3 separate regions of the Homo sapiens genome follow, and regions 1 and 2 are each linked to region 3. Evidence: promoter capture Hi-C in human tissues and cell types (Jung and others, 2019). All regions are on one chromosome and are shown on one strand. The core of a region is centred on a gene start or on the middle of the fragment in contact, and the rest is flanking DNA. Distances in the headings are between cores, read along the strand shown. Region 1 overlaps ZNF516 (zinc finger protein 516). Region 2 has its middle 40 kb from the start of LINC00908. Region 3 holds the start of LINC00908 (long intergenic non-protein coding RNA 908).

Evidence for each region. The method cuts DNA at HindIII sites, captures the fragments that hold promoters and counts their contacts. A contact is called where the count stands out against the background at its distance.
Region 1: a fragment that was not itself captured here is called in contact with the fragment with the promoter of LINC00908 in region 3 in 6 of the 25 tissues and cell types used here (bladder, dorsolateral prefrontal cortex, hippocampus and 3 more).
Region 2: a fragment that was not itself captured here is called in contact with the fragment with the promoter of LINC00908 in region 3 in 7 of the 25 tissues and cell types used here (IMR-90 fibroblasts, aorta, heart left ventricle and 4 more).

Annotation. Positions count from the first base shown.
Region 1 is chr18:76,483,091-76,487,669 of GRCh38, reverse strand. All of the region lies in intron 1 of ZNF516 (zinc finger protein 516), which reads left to right. Among named protein-coding and RNA genes, the nearest start is that of ZNF516-AS1, 6.3 kb to the left of the region's middle. The HindIII fragment of the contact is 4,856 bases long and covers 1-3,983 here.
Region 2 is chr18:76,566,401-76,571,120 of GRCh38, reverse strand. No RefSeq gene overlaps it. Among named protein-coding and RNA genes, the nearest start is that of LINC00908, 40 kb to the right of the region's middle. The HindIII fragment of the contact is 3,940 bases long and covers 1-3,585 here.
Region 3 is chr18:76,526,570-76,531,072 of GRCh38, reverse strand. LINC00908 (long intergenic non-protein coding RNA 908) reads right to left here and starts at 2,418. Exons shown (of 3, transcript NR_015417.1): 1 at 2,110-2,418; 2 at 609-689. RefSeq lists enhancers at 757-1,396, 1,820-1,899, 1,397-2,035, 2,036-2,676. The HindIII fragment of the contact is 15,253 bases long and covers 1-4,503 here.

The sequences.
Region 1 (4,579 bases), core at 306-2,805, 43 kb after region 3:
GAATCGTTCGATTTTCAGGAATTTTGAAAAGGCACAAACCTATTGTAAGAAAAGAATCATGTCAAATGTTTACATTTATGAATAATTAATAAAATTAACCTTATGGGAGGAGGAGGAAGAAAGAACAACTTTTACTATGACTTTAGAATGTCTCCTGTTCTTTAAAAAGTATCTTTATTTTAAAATTAATTTTTCTAACTGAAGAATATTTTAGGGGAATGACTTAAATAGCTATAAGGAAGGATATATTTATAGGGGCTATAAATGCATCATTTGTATTTGAAATTTCTAGCATCCACTACAGTGTACGAAGTGTATTTTAGATGGACTGGTAAAAACCAGCAGTTGCAACTGTCTGTTTTGCATTCCTTATGCTCTGCATCTGGCCACACGTGACTTGAACAGCTGAAGCTTCTCTTTCCAAAGCTAGAGCCATCATCGTATTTATGTCTAGCCTGAGATGTTTTCCGATGGTATACATTCGAATTGTAAAGCAGTGTAATTTGTGGCTCTCAACATGCCTTAAAAGTCATTTCCAAAAAAGATCTGGCATTTAATCTTTAATTCAAATGGTACTGAAAATTACAAAGCAGGAGTAATTAGAAATGCAACTATTTTTAGAAAGCAAACATGTAAATATATGTTAAGTGATGACTAAAACACAAGCAGGAGAGTAGGAAAAATTATTTAAAAGACAACTATAGTAGGTTTAGATACATCTTACCATATACTGTATTTTAACTCTGTGTTAATTCTGGTAGATTTACTTCGTATTCCTGTTTCTGTACCTTCCCCCCGAACCTTGGTCAGGAAGTAAGTAAAGTCTATAGAATCTCAGAATTTACTGGGCCGAGAAGAGATGTATATCGTATGTAATTGTGAAATCCAGACAGTTCCTCAACTGAGTGGTGAAAATGGGATGAAATCTTAGTGTGTTTTGTTATCTTCAAGGCAGAGGGAATCTGGTGTTTTTTTTTTTTTTTCCTTCAAAACCAGGTAGACAACGTCTCTCACCGCCCTGGGGAGTTGCTGGTGCTGGCTCAGCCTCCAGGATACAGCTGTCCTGTTATTTTCTTGCTTTTTTAGGAGATGGTGTGCGTAGAGGAAGATGTGGTGTTAGTTTTCAGGACACAGTTAAAGACAGGCTTAAAAAATCAAGGTTCTCTATTAAAACTATAATTTCTTGTTAATGGCTAAGAATTAAAAATTTTTCAGCGCTATTAACACTTGAAGAACTCTCTAATCCCCCACTCTTCCCATGTGAAAGTAAAGGACATTTGTTTAGGAATTTTTTTGTTTCAGAAAAGGGCAACATGTGTCTGTCTTTGCCATATGGTACTATTTAACCTATATTGCATGAGCTGACAAGACACTGTGTTTGGGCATTGATTTATTTTAGCATTCGAGAATGTTCTTTGAAATTTAGTACAGTAAATGATGCATTGAAAGTTGTACAGAATGGTCGTTTGTGGCTTTAGCAGATTCTTTCTCAGTTGATACTTAAGGGTGTAGTGAACAAGTTTCACTTTTTTTCCACCGATACAATTTTTGTGAGAAATAGTTTGCCATTCAATGCTGAGTGACTGTTAATTCAGGAAAACACAGACTTGAATATAAGTAGTTAAGACTTCTGGGGGTCACAAATAAGGCTAAGAGTTGGGCAGGTCAGAAAGAGAAGATTCACTGTTTAGTTCCTGATTATTCTGGTGATTTTAACCTAGAGCAAAAAAGTATGTTTATTATTATTATTATTTTTGTCAAAAAGACTCAGCTTTTGTCCCCATCTTTTTTTTTTTTTTTTAAAGAAATGAGTTAATGAACAAATGGACAATCCTATTTAATAGTTCCCCTGAGCTTCTGTGGTGCGGCCCTGGAATTATCTACAGGCAGAACTGAGATGTTTTCACTTAGGCTGTGTTTTGTTTACACATGCTGGTTTGGGTTTTTGGGTAGACCTGTGTTGAATTCACAGGGTGGCTCTTATGCCATGTTGCAGGAATTTATTAGTATGGAACCCCACAGAAGATTCCACCTCCATTTTTAACATTCTGTATGGCTGTCGAGTCGACACCAAAGCAAATGTGTCTCCAGACACCTCTCTCTCGTTGTCTCAGTCTTGTTGGCTTTAATCATCCTGTTTTCTCTGTTTTACGAAAGAAGTAAACAAATTTCTATTCATCCACACGTGTGTCCCCAAAGCAAGGCATATGTGGACTGAAAGGTGGGCTGGGGCTTTGCTTCGAGAACGTGAGCGAAGAGCGTGTGAGTGCACGTTGCCTTTGGTGATGCATCATTTATATTGACATTATCAGTGACACAGACAGAACATTTTTATGCCAGTTTGAGAAAATACCATCATTCACATTGATAATCATATTCCCCCCAGATTTAGATTAATCATTTCAAAGCTTTTCATGTCTTTAGCATGACCATTAGCATAATGATGATAATTTGTCCCTTTGAGTAACACCAAGCATAATTTAAATTAACGTTATTGTGTTGAGTGCAGTGCAACCCCAGGTGCTCAAGTAGCTTCCTTTTTTCAAAAATGGCTTTTTACTTTTTAAAATGAGAGGCAAGCAAGACGATCTCATTCCTAAAACCAACTTAAAAAATAAAAGTGTTAATAAATAAGTGAATTCCTAATGTAAAAGTGCTTGCCGTAGCAACGTAAACTTGGGGACAATTCTGTAGAGTCATGCGATTAGTGGTTTAGTGGTAGGATTAAAATTAGCCTCGGTAAATTACCCTGGTGACAGAAAAGCAGAATCTGTTAATGGTTTCACAGGAAGATTGGCTTATCAGTTATTTTCTAGGTTGATGAAAGATTATGGGCTGCTAAGAATTTGAACTTTAGAAAGTAAGGTTGATTTTCCTAATATTTACATATTTTAAAGTATAGGTATTGATTAAAAAGAAAGTTATTACAGTTAGAATTTGGGATTTTATATGTGTGTGGGAGATGATTTACAAACCAGGTTTTTTGCTTAGCTGTGAACATTAAGGGGGCCGTCGAGAGTGTGTGTTTTAGGCAATCCTTAAATCCCGTCCAGGGGAATAGTAGACCATTTTGGAAAGCATTTTACATGTTTTGGACCCACGAAAACTCCATTTAGATTCCTACAAGGTGGTAGGTGATGAAACTGCACCTTCTTGGCCCGAGCGGGGTTAGGGCGGCCGCCATTTTAGAGCACGGTGTTATATCGTTAGGAGTGTTACATTGACTTGGTGTAATGACCGTGAAGGAAAGCATTTGCTTTCGTGATTGTTTATGTTTCTTTGTAAACTTACATTATTTGTATTTGGGCTTGTTTTAGAAGGTTAATATAGACAATCATATATGTGTTATAACTGCAGGAAACTTGGAGGTGATTTTTGAGTGAATCCTGACATTTTACAGGTACTGAAATGCAGAAAGATTTAATAACTGAGCCAAGGCCACAGGAATGGTGCAGAGCTCAAATCCAGGCGTCCTGATTCCCAGCTTAGCCTTTTTCTCCATACGCTGTGCTGAATGCACAGAATAAGGGGAGGTGAAAGTCCACTCTGAAAAGGAACTTGGTAAGCGTGTTGTCATGCTGAGTTAGCACTGCCAAGTGTGGACCTGGCAAATAACCAGGTGTTTAGGGCAGTGTAGGGAGAGCCCCCCTTCAGCTTTGCTTGGATGCTTAGAGCTTGCTCCACAGAGAAGAAACATGTTGAGTAAATGTTTGCGTCTTTCCACGGGGATGTCGTGCGAGTTGGGCACTGGACCAGTTGTTGCTGTCTGAGGCTGCTGTCACATGGCAGCGCTCAAGGAGGAACGTGGAAAATCTGGTCACCAAAGACCAGGCAGCTATCTGCGCAGATTCCCAGCCCCGCAGTGGGTGCCAGGATACAGGTTTTCTTGCGAAACCCAATGGTTATCACCAATAGTAACATATTTTTATAAGAGAGTAAATACAGAGTGTAAGTGACCAACGTGGGATATAGAAAATCCTAAAAGAAAAAAGCCACCAAAAAATCATAGGGAAAGGGGTCGGAGAAGACCAGGTCAGTTCTGATAGACGGCTGGGCCCTGAGACTCACCTTCTTAAGCCAGGAAGATGAAATGCGGGTGGGCCAGCTGACGGGGGACATTTGGCACTCATGGGTTCTCAGTGTGGTGCGGCAGATGACCCGTGACAGACAGATGCCGATGACGGACAGATGCTGATGACGGACAGATGCCGAGAGGGAGCTTCCCACAGGAGTGGGCAGGGAGGCGGCAGAGACAGAGTGGATCATGGCAGGTGCTTTCCTCTGAGCTCAGCTTTGGTGCCAGGGGACAAGATGGCCACAAAGAGGAGGTGTTGGGGACCCCAGAGAGCTGAACCCAGGAAAGTGTGCATTCTCCTCCTTTCTTTCCAATGGTCAGGTTGGCTGGCTTGAGCTGTGTCTGCCCCGGGTTGCTGTCTGGACCTTTGCAGATTATTAAACACCTCCTGGAGGAGTCTCCACCCCGCCTGCCTTCTCCAGCAAAGCAGGCAGCTGGGCCAGGGAGCAGGTAGTTTTTCTTTGTTGTGCAAGAGCCGCTTAAGAAACAGTGGCCTTTTGCATT
Region 2 (4,720 bases), core at 366-2,865, 41 kb before region 3:
TAGCTCATTCTTGGGGATGTGATGGCTAATCCTGTCTAGATACCAACTTTTACCACAGGATACCAAAACTGAAACTTCCAAGGTGTGTCCCAATTTCTTATATGGATGTGACATCAGCTGAGGCCCTCAGAAGGGATTGAGTTTGACGTAAGACATGGCAGGAGAGGCTGGTGTTGATGTCCTCTGAAGATACGTGTTCCCAGGAAAAGGCTATGTAAGGGAAAATCCACTTTAAACAAGAATAAAACTTTCATAATAAATAATGAAAAAAAAAAGGTCAGTTGATGGTTTTACCTTGAAACCAAATAAAACCGAATTATATAAATTTATTTTAGTTTATACAAAATTTAAGTTATAATTATGCAATAATCCTTAGATTCAGCAAAGAAGGCTTCCAGTGTTACTGTTTTTCTGGTGTAATTTTTCCAACAAAACTCTAAGCCAGCAGGATGAGACACCCCCCCAGCTTACAGCGCTCCCCCACGAAAGGCCATGTCTGCAACACTCTTGCATCGCTGTATCATCTTTCTCAAAGGCGTCTTTAACCGGAGCTGTGCGGATGCAGATCTCTTAATGCTGTTGTGCCACTTTCCATGGTGATTACTTGCTCTTTAATTGCTAATTATAGTTAACCGTGTGCCAGTGACCGTGGGAAAGTCCTGAGCAATTCTCCAACGTCACTTTCATTGACTTCATGAAATCCCAAATTGCCTGTAAGCTTTGCTGTTGTATTTGAAATGGACATATGCAAAGCTGTGGCCTCACCGAGGCTGCATCATCTCCACTGAACAGCCTGCAGGGCGGGTACAAAGGCTCGTCCCTTTGCCTTTGTTTGGGGCCACTCTGAAGGCCCCCCCACCAACCCCAGGTCCAGAACTCCCACGGAATGGGCAGAGGCCTTGGCTGCAGCTGCTGGCCGGTTAGACTCCTCCCTTGGCTCCCTCTTCACTCAGTGCAGGCTTCGTCCTGAGAGTGAGGCCTGTAACTCCCCAGCACACACACTGGTCTCAGCGTCCGTTCTAGGGGGCAAACTGAAAAGCTTCGATTTCCACCTATTTTCATCTTGTTTAATTCCCACAGCCATTCTGGGTCATAGACAAAGGTGTTAGTCCTTTCATGTTCAGACTGAGGATGCCAGAGCCCACAGGTGGAGTCACTTGCGTGCCAACTTTCACCAGAGCCCACATGTCAGAGCCCAGACTCACACTGCATTTCAGGACTTTCATCCTAATGCACAAAGCCAGAGATGAGGACTGGAAAACAGAGAGTGATGATGACGACACCAACGACAAACGGAATAAATCAGCTGTGCAGCTATGGGATTCTCCTCATTCAAACATTGCGAAGGGATTTACCAATGGCATTGAGGTCTGCTAACCTTGACACTCTGCACATGAGCCAGGAAAACTGCTCTCAGCCAACAAGTGAACGTGACCTGTGGGTGTGTCTCTCCTTCTAATTCTTGCTAGAAGTTGCCACCATGCCATGGACCCCACAGTCTCTCTGACCTGGCTACAAGCCATGTTCACTGCAGGAGAGTTTCCCCCAGTGGCTGGAGGCCACTCCGTCATACCCACACTTTCCACCTCATTGGAGGGAGCGGGTTGTGGAAGCACAAGGAAAAGATCAGAAAGCAGCCGGGGAGGAGTCGCGGAACTCAGAACCTCCCACATTTTATCATGAGCCCTATGAGTCCAGATATATGTTACAGGCTGGGCACGGTGGCTCACGCCTGTAATCTCAGCACTTTGGGAGGCTGAGGTGGGCAGATCACCTGAGGTCAGGAGTTCGAGGCCAGCCTGGCCAGTGTGGTGAAACCCCGTCTTTACTAAAATTAGCCAGGCATGGTGGAGCATGCCTGTAATCCCAGCTACTCCGGAGGCTGAGGCAGGAGAATAGCTTGAACCCGGGAGGAGGACGTCGCAGTGAGTTGAAATCGCACCATTGCACTCCAGCCTGGGCAACAAGAGCGAAACTCCATCTCAAAACAAACAAACAACCCAAAGTATATGTTATAAAAATCTAATAGTTTATTCCCCCAATAAGTTAAGTTAAAAAAAAAACAACAAAACACTAAGTGCTGTGTGGACCTTGAATCTCTCTTCCATTATCCTATTCCTGCCTTGCCACCAACTCTAAAATGCTGTGTCATTTCTGAGTTTTGGATTTCCCCTTGCAAGATGAGTTGCAACAAGCCCCTGGTACAAACAGCTCTGGTGCAAATCCACAGGAAAGACTGCAGCCGCAAGCCTGCCATGAAGATGGCCCTGTTCAGAGTATGGGAGAGTCACACAGCTTTCCAGCCAAGGAAGGGCTCCAACCTTGGAGAGAACATTCTGGAATGTAGTTTGTTAGGAACAAACCATCTCCTTTCCATGCCTCCCACTCCCCTCCTCATTTGAAAAAGACAGTCATGCGCAGGCAAATACTACTGAACTTTATACTCTGCCAACCAAGAAAGAAAAGTGCTTCACCTATGTATCAATTCCACGAGGTCCGATACTTTTGATATTTCAAATTCAAGCGCAGTGCTTGGAGCCCATGCTAGGTGGAAATTCAGAATGCACTGTGAACCTTATCCTGGGCTCCGGCCCCTGCAATGCAGTTCTTATCCTGTGGGTTGGCCCACCAGTCCCCCAAGAGCTGCATTCAGCGGAGTGAGTGTTTTTCCCTTTTTCAAAGCTCCCAGCCCTAGGAAAGACAGCAGCCACCTTCCCTTCCACTGAGACCCCAGCCACCCCTCTGCACATCCTGGCTAGGTGGTAGACACGTGTCTCTCATCTGCAGGGTGAGATCTGCTCAGGCAGGGGGACCCTCACAGCAAGGATGCTCGAGCCCAGCGCAGTGTGGGGTGCATTGTGGGTTCATCCAGTGGGCTGTCACCACGGGTGCCCCAAGAACTGCATCAAGGGGCCCTTTTAGCTCTGAGGTGGACCTGGGGGCAGGACGGCAGTGTGGTTTTAGAGTCATAATAATATCCACCTTCACGCATCGCTGCCCTGATCCAAGGATCATAGGCCAAACGGTAGGGCATCTGCAGGGGGTGTGTTACTGTCTGTTCCCGACCTGAGTGGCCTCTGCCCCATGTTCTGGAGCTCCTCCCAGGCGAGCCAGGCGCAGAGCACACCTTGGCAGTCATTGCAGGCTGGATGATTTCCCCAATATCTGTGCGTGTGGCCTTCTGTGGAAATAGCATCTTTGCAGATGATCAAGTTAAGATGCGGTCAATAGGGTGGGCCCTAATCCAATATGACTGTGTCCTTATGGAAAGGGAAAATGTGGCTACGGGGACAGACATGCGCATAGGAGGAAGGCCCTGTGAAGATGAAGGCAGGGACCAGGGGATGCTTCCTCACACAAAGGAATGCCCAAGAGTGCCAGCAGCCACCAGAAACTAGGAGAGGCACCTGGAAAGATTCTCCCACCCTGCCCTCGGGAGGAACCCACCTTCGGTCCTTGATCTTGGACCTCTCCTCCCTAGACCTGTGGGGGAATAAATTCCTCTTGTTTAGGACTCGCGCTCTGTGATGCTCTGTTGTGGCAGAGTCTAGGGAAACCAACACAGAAGTGGAAGCTGACCTTCCACCTCTCTATGCACACGGGCGACCTGAGCCGACTGCTGGGCCCTCAGGGGCAAGTGCTGTCCTGTCCACCTCCAGTGAGTACTGCCCAGGGCCACATCCCAAGATGGGCCACAGAAGAGTCACTAGCTGTCTCTCCACCTGCCAGTCATAAAGGTAAGGAGGGGAGGGGAGGGTCAGAGAATGCACCACACCGTCAGGGAGAGAGAGAGACAGAGAGAGAGAGAGACAGAAGGAGAAAGAGACAGAGAAAGAGACAGACGTGGGGGTGGGGAGAGAGACAGAGAGAGGGAGAGAGACAAAGAGATTGGGAGAGACAGAGACAGAAAGAGACAGAGACAGAGACAGTGAGAGAGAGACAGAGAGAAGGAGAGAGAGACAAAGAAAGAGAGACAGAGAGACGGGGGAATGGGGGAGAGAGACAGAAAGAGGGAGAAAGACAGAAAGACAGAAACAAAGAGAAAGACAACGAGAAGCAGAAAGAGGAAGACAGAGAGAGGCATAGAGAGAGAGACAGAGCGAAACAGAGACAAAGAGATACAGAGAGAGAGACAGAGAGAGAGAGACAGGTAGGGGAAGGGAAGAGGGAGGGCTCCTCCTGGTCCCGGTGGCCAATGTGAAGGCCAGAGGGAAGCAGGGAGCCCTCCTGGGCAGCTCCTCAGGAAATAAGGGGAGAGGACAGCCTCTTTCAACAGATGGACCAGTCTTTGGGAGACAAGCTCTCCCCATGGGATGCCATCTCTCTTCTCCACCCTGTGTCTTATGAACGTGGCCTTGGTGCAGGGCCTCCCTCTTCAGACCCAGCAGAAGTGGCATTGCATGCACACCAGTTTGAGTGGCATAGTTAAGTCCCAGTTGACCGAAGTCCCAACCTACACTTAGACTTTCTCAGACCAGTGGCCACCTCCTCCGAAGTCCCCCAGAGAAAGAAACCCCTGCCTTCTGTGCTGGCTTTTAGGAACTCCCAGGATTACCCAGCACTCTCCCCGTCCTCCGGAGAGGTGGGATCCGAGGAAAGGGCGAGCCCAGACACAGCGCCACGTCAGAAAGTCCCGTCATGGCAGGGCGCGGGGGCTCACGCCTGTCATCCCAGCACTTTGGGAGGCCGAGGCGGGCGGATCACAAGGTCAAGAGATTGA
Region 3 (4,503 bases), core at 1,169-3,668:
TATTGCTTCCCCAGGGAATCACAGTCTAGTGGCAGAGCCTTTCAAACCCACAACAGCTGTCATGCCTGAGACAGCTCAAGCAAGCCTGAGGGACATGGGAAGAGAGCATCCCAGGCCCATTCTGATCCATGGGAATCTAAGAAGGCCTCCTGGGGGTGGCGAGATTTGAATGTATCCTGGAGAGCAGGTAGGCATTTGTGGTAGACACTGTAGTGGGCCACCCAGAGTCCCCCTCAACCAAGCGCTGTCCCGCCAGCTGCAGAAAGTGTCAACTATTGACAACCTCTATCTGGGGACTCTCCAGGAACTGCCCTTCTTGAAGGGCACCTCACCCAAACACAGGTACCCTCCCTGGACACAGCCTGTCCCCAGCGAGTGGCCAGCGCATGGGTGCAACGCCTGGCCTCCTGCCTCAGGGGGAGTGACTCTCAGGGCTCTCAAATTCAGAGCCCTCCATGGGGTTGGCCGAGGCCTCTGTTGCAACTGTTCCTCAGTTCACCTTCCTCTTCTGCCCACCCTGGGTCCTGCCATTCTTCAGGTGTGGCTCCTGAGAGCACCGGCCTGTGAGACCCTGCGGAGAAATCACCGCCAACCGTGTGAGCACTCACCGCAGGGAAACAGCCTTCCACCACCTCCGCCTCCTGCTCTTGACCAAGCCCGCTAGGAGCACTAGGCCTCAGCCTCCTCATCTGTAAGACAGGGGCCAAAATGGTCTTAATTCTCAGAGTGTCATAAGCATGAAATGAGAGCGTGCACAGAAAGCCCTTACTTAGGCTTGGTGTGTAGTGAACGCCCAATAGAAGTGCTTGGTGTGCAGTGAATGCACAATAGAAGAAGTGATATGTGGCCGGGCGCGGTGGCTCACGCCTGTAATCCCAACACTTTGGGAGGCCGAGGTGGGCGGATCACGAGGTCAGGAGATCGAGACTATCCTGGGTAACGCGGTGAAACCCCGTCTCTACTAAAAATACAAAAAATTACCCAGGCGTAGTGGCGGACGCCTGTAGTCCCAGCTACTTGGGAGGTTGAGGCAGGAGAATGGCGTGAACCCGGGAGGCGGAGCTTGCAGTGAGCCGAGATCGCGCCACTGCACTCCAGCCTGGGCGACAGAGCGAGACTCCGTCCCCCCAAAAAAAGAAGTAGCGGTATGTATGATGTTGTTCGTCACAGAAAGCATGGAAAATACAGAAAGACACAGAGAAGAGAGTAAATTCACCCATGGGTCTACTGCCGGGTTAACAGGCACTACCAAGATTTCAGGTGGTGGGGGCGCACGCGCATGCGCACCAACACACGGGCCCTAGAAAAATAAACTCGGGATCCTAAGCGTGTACGCTGCGGTGCCCACACACGCGTCTGCCGTTCTCACCCCGTTTTCTGCTTTAATTTTCTGCTTAAATTGGTCATTTTCTGTGAAATGCACATTCCACTTCTGGGTAGTGTGCACCGCCCATCTCCCCCACGGAGTGCAGGAAGGTGGCAGCGGGGCTGTGTTCCAGGCCAAGGCCACACAGCCCGGGGGGCCGCACGCGGGGGCAGCCTTGGTACACGAGGCCTTTCATTTGTTGGTTTTACAGCTGGAAGAATTCGGATATACTTATTGACCGAGAGAAGAGTCCAAAACTCAGGAGTGGAAAATAACGAAGAATGAAGAAAGGAAACAGGAAGAGGTTGACCTGATTGATGGAAAGGAGCTCCTCTTTCTCCAAAACCAGAAGGAAAAGGAAGATTTAGAGAGCAGAGGAGGGTAAGTTTCCCCCGGATAATATGGGTTCAGTTGCATAATACGGCCAGGATGTTATCTGCAAAGAAGCTGTGGGGAGGAGAAGGCAGAGCAAGGAGCGCAGGGCTGAGACTGTGGGAGATGCAGCCGGAAATGACAAAACAGAAACAAAACGTGACCAAGGCCATTTGGGGTCCAGCTGAAGTTCAGCGGCTTAGATGCGTAGTAAGTCCCATGAGCACTGTTGCACGACTTGCCCACAGCTGTTCACATATGGACTTTGCAGCTCACATTGACTCTGGCCAGGGCGGGAGAGCCGGGGAGCCAGGCAGGTGCGTGGGAAGGGAGAGAAGAAAGGGAAGACGCGGTGCCCATTCCATATTTACCTTAGTAGTCATCCAGACGCACTTCCCTCTCCAATCCCCAAACAAGAAGAGGCAGAAACTGTCTACCAGTTAGACGGGAGGTGTCAGCGCCCCTGGAGGCTGTGGCCATTGCCAGGGAGACCCCACTCTGCACAGCTCACAAACACACCGTGTGTGTGCAGGGTCCTCACCCGCCCTGGGCAGGAAATGGGGGAGTTCTACGTCCACTTTGTCACGCAGACAATGGAGGGGACCGCAGAAGGGGCTTCCCCAAGGACACAGAGCCAGTGGCCGCCTCACTGTGTGCCCCTCAGTGGGCGTTTCCACACTGCCTGGCAACTTTGAGAACAGCCGCTTTCGCTGGGTCTCCAGTGAAACTTGAAACCATTTGCATCTGCAAGTACTTTACTTATTCCATTTCAAAGGCATGCACATTTTTAAAGGGACACTGTTTTTAGCTCCTGCGTCACTGACTCATCCCGCATAATTTGACTTTATGGGACAGGGTCCCCTAAGGAGTGTCCTTGCCTTGACAGTCCTGTCTTGAAAGCTGTGAAGACCAAGTGGTGCCATATATATTGTTTTAAAATTATGGACTACCTAGAAAAGAGGTGAAATAGTAAAAAAAAGCAAAACTTTTAATATTCAATGACAAACACAGACAGAAAATAGGGAAAAATTAAATGTTAATGTGTTGGGATGATTGGATTTTGAATAAATTTTATTTATTGAATTGATATGAAGTTTATGGAACAGGGATAAACAGTTTGTTTCATATGATTATATATTTAGGTATTCGTTGACATACATATATACGTATACATATACACGTATGTATTGCCGTGTGTACATATAGACACATAGCATGTATGTATAAAACATATACATATGTGCCAAATTACAAAACGAGAAGTCGTGTTGCTCATCCTGCTCTATTATAAGAAACCTCAAGCAACAGTAGGTACTGGAAAATGCCAAGTCTGCATGATCCCGGCAAGGGCAGATCCTGCCACTGGAGTTCTGGAATGCATCTCTCCCCACTTGGCAAAGATGCAGGGTGCAGAGGGGGTGTCAGCAGAGGGGCTGGGTGCAGAGGGGTTGCAGACTTACCACAGGAGGACTTTATCAAGAGATGTGGGTTTTCTGGGCATCCAGGACACCCACAATGGGGTGACAGAATTGTCTGTGGAGTGGAGTCCTAGTATTGAACTTGGCAGCTGCTACCGGATGCTCTTCTGGCACCTATGTTTTCAGAAAAACAGGAGCTGGCCAAGAGTATTTGCCAGATTTCTCCCTGGATTGGACTGATTTCTGCACTCAGCCCAGGTTTGTTTTTTTTTTTTTTTGGTGTGTGCCCCCGCGCCCGGCTAATTTTTGTATTTTTAGTAGAGACGGGGTTTCACCTTGTCAGCCAGGCTGGTCTCGAACTCCTGACCTCAGGTGATCCGCCTGCCTTGGTCTCCCAAAGTGCTGGGATTACAGGCGTGAGCCATGGCACCCGGCCTCAAACCAGCCTCAATCTGAAGGACGTGCATACTCTCCACAGGTCCCACAGGTCTTTCTAGGGTCCTTGCCCCTTACGTGCACTTCCTCTCTGAAGAGGTCCTTCCTCCACCATGTTGTCCCAGCCTGAAATTGTCCCTCATTATGGAGACTTGAGTGGTGTCTCCCACTGACTCCTCTCTCAAGGGGTGAGGGTTTGCTTGACCAGACACCAGCAGTGGGGCACACCCCTTCCAGTTCACCCTGATGAGCTCCTTATGCCACCACAGGGTCAAAATCAGGTTTAATAGCAGCAGCATTCGCAGTAGCCACAAAATGGAAACAACTCAAGCACCCCTCCAAGAGGGGGAATGGATAAGTAAAGTGTGCTGTATCCCCACGATGGAATATTATTCACTCATGAGAAGGAGTGAAACACTGGCACATGCCACAACGTGGATGAACCTTAAAAGCCTTATGCTGAGTGGAGGACGTCAGGCACAAAATACCACAGATTGTTATGAGCCCAGTTGTATGAAATGTCCAGAAGAGGCAAATCCATAGAGACAGAAAGCAGATCCGAGGTCGCCAGGGTCTGAAGGAGTCGGGGATGGGGAATGATTGCTAATGGGTCCAAGGGGGCTTTCCTTTCTGCATGAGGACAGTGTTTTGAAACTGGAGGTGATGGTGGCATAACACCGTGACTACACTAAATGCCACTGAGTTGTACACTTTTGATTTTAGGCTATGTGAGTTTTACTTCAGTTAAAAAAATAGATTGAAGGCTCAGAGAGATTTAGGGGTGGGAGGGTAAGGATTTAGGATTCAAAAGAACTTGACTAAGGAGCTGAGAATCTTAAATATATTTCCAGTGTCATTGGGTTACTGGCTGACCTCTGTGTGCTACCTTGGTACCCTACCCCAATCGACGCT